Regions from separate parts of the Homo sapiens genome. Here region 1 is linked to region 2. Evidence: promoter capture Hi-C in 16 types of primary human blood cells and fetal thymus (Javierre and others, 2016). All regions are on one chromosome and are shown on one strand. Each heading gives the region's core, a stretch centred on a gene start or on the middle of the fragment in contact. The rest is flanking DNA. Distances are from core to core; before and after follow the strand shown. Region 1 overlaps SESTD1 (SEC14 and spectrin domain containing 1). Region 2 holds the start of CCDC141 (coiled-coil domain containing 141).

The links. The method cuts DNA at HindIII sites, captures the fragments that hold promoters and counts their contacts. A CHiCAGO score of 5 or more calls a contact.
Region 1: a fragment that was not itself captured here is called in contact with the fragment with the promoter of CCDC141 in region 2 in 2 of 17 cell types (total B cells and non-activated CD4 T cells); the score reaches 5.6 in total B cells.

What each region holds. Positions count from the first base shown.
Region 1 is chr2:179,116,429-179,119,196 of GRCh38, forward strand. It overlaps SESTD1 (SEC14 and spectrin domain containing 1), which reads right to left. Exons shown (of 18, transcript NM_178123.5): 14 at 1,104-1,185; 15 at 240-362. Among named protein-coding and RNA genes, the nearest start is that of CCDC141, 68 kb to the left of the region's middle. RefSeq lists an enhancer at 2,255-2,424. The HindIII fragment of the contact is 1,597 bases long and covers 490-2,086 here.
Region 2 is chr2:179,048,868-179,051,847 of GRCh38, forward strand. It overlaps CCDC141 (coiled-coil domain containing 141), which reads right to left and starts at 1,270. Exons shown (of 24, transcript NM_173648.4): 1 at 973-1,270. The coding sequence starts at 1,074. RefSeq lists enhancers at 767-816, 1,007-1,256, 1,267-1,346. The HindIII fragment of the contact is 6,980 bases long and covers 383-2,980 here.

The DNA of each region.
Region 1 (2,768 bases), core at 38-2,537, 68 kb after region 2:
CCGTAATACATAGCATAAATCAGAGGGACCATGCAGAACATGTATTCAGGGAAACGTAAACCCTCTCAAGTTTATGCAGGCTAGTTTTGATGCACCAGCTGACATTTTCTTAATTCTGTGACACTTCTGGAATAACAAAACTAACCTTCTTGTACTTGGAAGGTAAAGTTACATTATAATCATGCAGAAAGCTATTCAAACACTGAGCTTGTGGAAAAGGAAGATAACCAGTTTTGCACCTGTGCAACATCAACAAATTTTCTATGCTTTTCCAGCAAAACTTTCGTTTCTTGAGCATCATCGCCCAATCTGATGTGAGTCTTAAGCAGAGCATCCAGAAGTTCACTTAGCCATTCTACTGCCTAAACAAAAAGACATAACAATGAAGCTGGATTCAGAACTCTTTACTTATTGTATCAAAATGTCATTTATACAGAGATTACTATCATGTGATTAATAAATCCGTTAATTATAACCTAAAGTCTTAAAAGCTTATTTCATTCAATGATAAGCTACATGAATTAATGACCTGTCCTACTCCTCAAAATTCTTTAAATCTGAAGGCAAGACATACTGAAGAAAAGCATTCTTTTAAAATTAATATCACATAATAAAAGATCATGTATTTCTGTATGTAGATCCATCAGGATTGCATTACAGATTTGTGTTACTACATAAAATCAAAAATTTTATCTATATCTAACTGAAATGATGTTCTCTGATGATAACGACAAAATATATCAAATTGTTTATCTGGTATTGAAATTTCTCTTGCAGATGCAAGAGAGCAAAATGCAGTGTGCTCCACCAGATTTTATCCTGGATGTAACTGACAACCTAATCAACAATAATAAATAATAAACGATCCCAATCTCTAGCTCAATAGAGGATTATAGAGGATTTCATTGAGAAAATTAAGTTAAATGAGATCAATCAACTAGCTGGGAATACCAAAGTGTATTCTTCAACAAGATAGATAAACTAGAACCTGACTTCAAGAATTTACTTTTTTAGGACCATGAAAAGTACACTTTTGTTTGTAGTTAGATAAAATCAATCTTCTAAGAAAAGTTAACTACATAATGTAGCTGACTGCTCCTTACCTGGGCAGCATCTTCTTCACATTTAAACAACTGCACCATCTGAAGCATCTTTAACCTTCGCACATCTACCATGTCTTCACATCTAATGAACCCAAACATAAATTTAACTCATCATTTCTGTTTTATTGATTACTATTGTAACATCATCATTTGGTACATGTATTTTATAGTACACTAAAATACTTAGTCCTAAACAATGGAGAATGCAAGTATTTTGTATTGATTTGTAAGAATTTTAGGGATATTTATATCAATGTTACATCAAAACATCAAAATACCCAAATGATACTCAATGACAAACCCTCTTAAAGATAGCATGGATTCTGCAAAATATTAAAGCAAAATGTAAGGACAATAGTACACTAAAACCCAAAAAAAATCTCCATTGCTGTTTAGCATCAAACAAGTTTCAAGGATAAAAGTGTAATGTTTCTCAAATACAGGATGATATTTTTTTGAGACAAGGTCTCACTCAAGCACCTAGGCTGGAGTGCAGTGGTACCATCATAGCTCACTATAACCTCAAACTCCTGGGCTTAAATGATCTTCACATCCCAGCCTCCCAAGTAGCTAAGACTACAGGTGTGCATCACTATGCCCAGCTAAAGAAACATTTAAACATTAACGCTTTTCATTATATTATAGTACCTAAAATAATATTTAATTCTGATTTTTTTTAAAACCCTCCATCTACATTCTTAAAAACTAGATGGAGGGCTTAAAAAAACAAAAAAACTCTACTGACCTCTGGGTGTAGAGAAACACAATTCAAATTATTTTTTTAATCTCATTGTGGTCTTTTTGGATAATATAACCATTTAAATTTTTAAGGCAACTTAACCTAACTTAACTCTGGTCCATTTCCTTCATTTCCATGAAATTCTGCGTACTGCAGGTGGGATGGGGGACTCCCACTGCAGTCTCAAATACCGATAATATGTTACCAGACACTGTGCTCTACTATACTTGATGTCCTTAAAGAAAGCTTAATAACAATATAGAAGTAGGTATCACAAGGCTTTTTTTTAAAAAAAAATAAAGATGCTCTGAATAAAAGCTATAACATGACATTAAAATTCAACTTGGTTAAAGTAATTCTACAATGGACTGAAGGGAAGTGATAATTATTTTTTAAATATGAAACTAAAAAACAATGTAGGCCACTTTGATGAAGATGGTATCATACATATACTGTATTCAGGTATTAGATAATGTGTGCTGGGGAAAATATAAGATATGGTCTCTACTATCAAGATGCTCCCATTTGCAGAGATGTTATAAGTACTATTATAAAGCTATTTAAAATGTTTTATGAGAGTAGGGAGGAGCAAGTGACTAACTTGCCTTAGAAGTCCAAAAAGGCTTCCTAAAGTAAAGTAAGTATCCCTGAGTCTTGAAGAGTAAGTAGGAATTCACTGAGCAGAAAACAAGGAAACAAGTATTCTTAGTCATGGATGCATGAAACAGCATGATGCTTTCAGGGAGATAAAAACAACTGTGTGATTTTATGGGAATGTTATAGAAGATAAAATTATGCAAGAATTGGATTATGAAGGGTCTCCTACATTATTCCAAGAAGACAAACTCCATCTGAGCAAACAGGAAGTCACTGAAGGAAGTTTTACACAATTGTTGTACTTTATGAAAATTACACTTATATACAAA
Region 2 (2,980 bases), core at 20-2,519:
CATTACCATAAAATTCACAGCAATTAAGTTAAAGTAAACATGGCTTGCTGTCCATGCTCTAACAAAAGGCCAGAAAAGTCATTCAATTAAACCTGGTGGGGACCTGAAAGTAACTGGTTTGTGACCATCAGCTTGTTTGCCAGCTTTCCCTTCATTAAACACTGAATTATTTAGGTGGAATATCATCTAAAGCCCAAGCCTAGTGCTTGAAAGCTTTTTTTTACAGGGCATTTCCATGGAGAATAAAATCATGGAGTTCTTCTTCAGCCTAAAGATGTGTGGTCATCTTTGCAAATGGGCAAATGGGTTGTCATAAAACATGCAGTAATTGTAAACCCTAAGTGGCTTCTACTTCCTGCTGTTAAGAGCAAATTTGACACAAAGCTTTTGTACCTTTCCTTGCATGGTCTTCGTTACTGGACAAGGATTTAGTAGTTTCTTTACCATGTCAAAACCAGTGTGGCAAAGGGCACATGTCGGAGCCCTTTACTTGGTGTTTTCTGAGTTCCATCGTGCTTAAAGCAGTGCCCTCCCCCTGTCTGTCGGGACCTGCCTCCTCCCACCTCCATCACATCCACTCTCAAAAATCACAAGCATTCCACAGGTCCATTGGACTCTTTAGTCAGGCAATCATGAACTTCCAGTTACCAATGCCTTGCTTTTAAAGACCAAATTGACAGTATATGCTAGAGGTTTTCTTTTCTTTATTTTTCTTTCTTTTCTTTTTTTTTTTTTTTTTAAATCAAGCTGCTATAGATGCTTTCTGGCTGACTGAAAGGAAAGAGAATCTCTGGTAACTGCTGAAACTTGTAGAGGTTTCTCTTAGTAGCCCATTTTAGAAAGCAGTAAGAGTGCTTGCTGCGTTGTCTTCTCTATGCTGTGTCCTGCCGATTGCATGGAATGTTCTTTAGGGTTTTCAACACACAGCTAGAAGCCCACAGCCGCACAGAAAAAAGGAAGTTGTTAGCTTACCTTTATGACAGCTATAACGATTTTGGAGTCCCCAGCCTGCACAGCAACTGAACTGACTGTCGTCGTAGAAAGCGCAACACTAGGACTTCCTTGGCTGGACATGGTACTTTAGAACCAGAGTTTATACTTTGGGCAGCCTCTGGACAGTTGTGTGTCTGCTGGTCATTTCAGAAGGCCAGGGTTACTTGGATTCATTCAGGGAAAGAGCTCAGCTCACACTGATTACTCTGCCAAAAGGAAAGAACAGGAGGTTAAAAATAGACAACCCCATTGAGTTTATCGTGAGAGAGAAAGGAGCGAACGAGAGAGAATTGCCACGCCCCTAGTATGGTGACACTAAGTGCCTGTTATTTTTGCTGTTATCTTAAATGTGGAGGACAGCTTCAAGCTCTTTCCTTATCAGCTGATGTTTGATAACAAATGGAAAAAAAAATTACATCCTGACAACCCAAATTAGTTTTGCCACCGAAACTATGCCATTGTAACCATGGACTTTGAAACAAGTAAGTCTTTGACCTGGTTATCAATCTTTTCAAGATTTTTGAAATCTCTCTGATGCAAAGAGAACTACCAAAGTGTACTTTAAAAAAGTTTTGGTATTTGTCTTGGGGTTAAGTCACAAATTGCTTAAAACACATTTTTAGATTAATCTGCTTTTCTAAAACTTACTGTTCTTTGCTAAATGAAGTTTAGATGGAATAGCCACATTTTCTCAGAGCCTCAGATTTCTTAGGAATTTTTAAAAAATATTTCAACCAGCATTTATAAATAGGTGCCTATCATTTCAGATTTTCTTTGTGACTATTCTGCTCCATTGGACAAGGTTTTCAAGTTCAGTTATTAATACCATGAGAAAGCAAAATACTTTGCTGTTACCTTTTAATTGCAGCAAGAAAATGTTTTCTGTGTGGTTAAAAGTTATTAAGACATATATTTTGCTGCAATTAAAAACAAAAACAAAAAGGAAAGTACTGTGCTTCAGGCTTTTTATTCCCTACCCCCACCTCCTGTTCAGGAAAATTATAGCCAGCTTCAAATCAGTGCCCCACATTGGTAGATTAATCCTATTGCTAGAAACTCAGCCTGTGTCACAAGTTGTCTGTGGTATTAAACAGCAGCTGTTGGATTCCCTGTCAAAGAACAGCTGAAAATAACACTAAAGTTTAGGTCAGAAGTCAGATGCAAACATATCAGAGTTACTAACTCCAAAGCTGCTGGAAGCATTGGAAATCTCTGGGACAAAGCCACAACAGAGAATATAGCAAAAAACAGTTTTAATGAATCCACTTGCTCTGTAAACCTTTTAGCCCAATTTAATAGTAGGTTCAGGTTCAGGGCCAATGTTTAGAAGACTGAGTCAGCTCCATTGCTTTGTTTTGCTAAGGTTCATGATCATATTCTTGATTCAAAGGGGAAAAGTACTTTTACACATACTTCAGTGTTCAATTATTTTTGTTTCCAAGAGCATGTCATGGCTGCTCTGCAGCTGTGTAGCCACCACCCATGTCCTCTGCGCTCAGCATCTGCCTGCTGCCCCAGTGAGATGGAAACCATACCTAGATCCTAGTCCCTATGCAACACGAACTTCACCTGACCCCATGAAGGGAACAATTGGAGCGAGCTCAGGAAAGCAGATGCCGAGCAAGCTATGATGTAGCAACTATTGCAAATGGTTTCATTTTATGGCAGGGCTGGAGAGCTTGCAAAGAGGTAACTGACCTGGAAGGTTGCAGGCAGGCTCCTTCTTTCACTTGCATCTGTGTGAAGAGACCACCAAACAGGCTTTGTGTGAGCAATAAAGCTGTTTATTTCACCTGGGTGCAGGTGGGCTGAGTCTGAGAAGAGAGTCAGCGAAAGGAGATAGGGGTGGGGCCGTTTTATGGGATTTGGGTAAGTAAAGGAAAAAGGGGGGTTGTTCTCTGGCAGGCAGGAGTGGGGGGGTCACAAGGTGCTCAGTAGGGGAGCTTTTGAGCCAGGATGAGCCAGGAGAAGGAATTTCACAAGATAA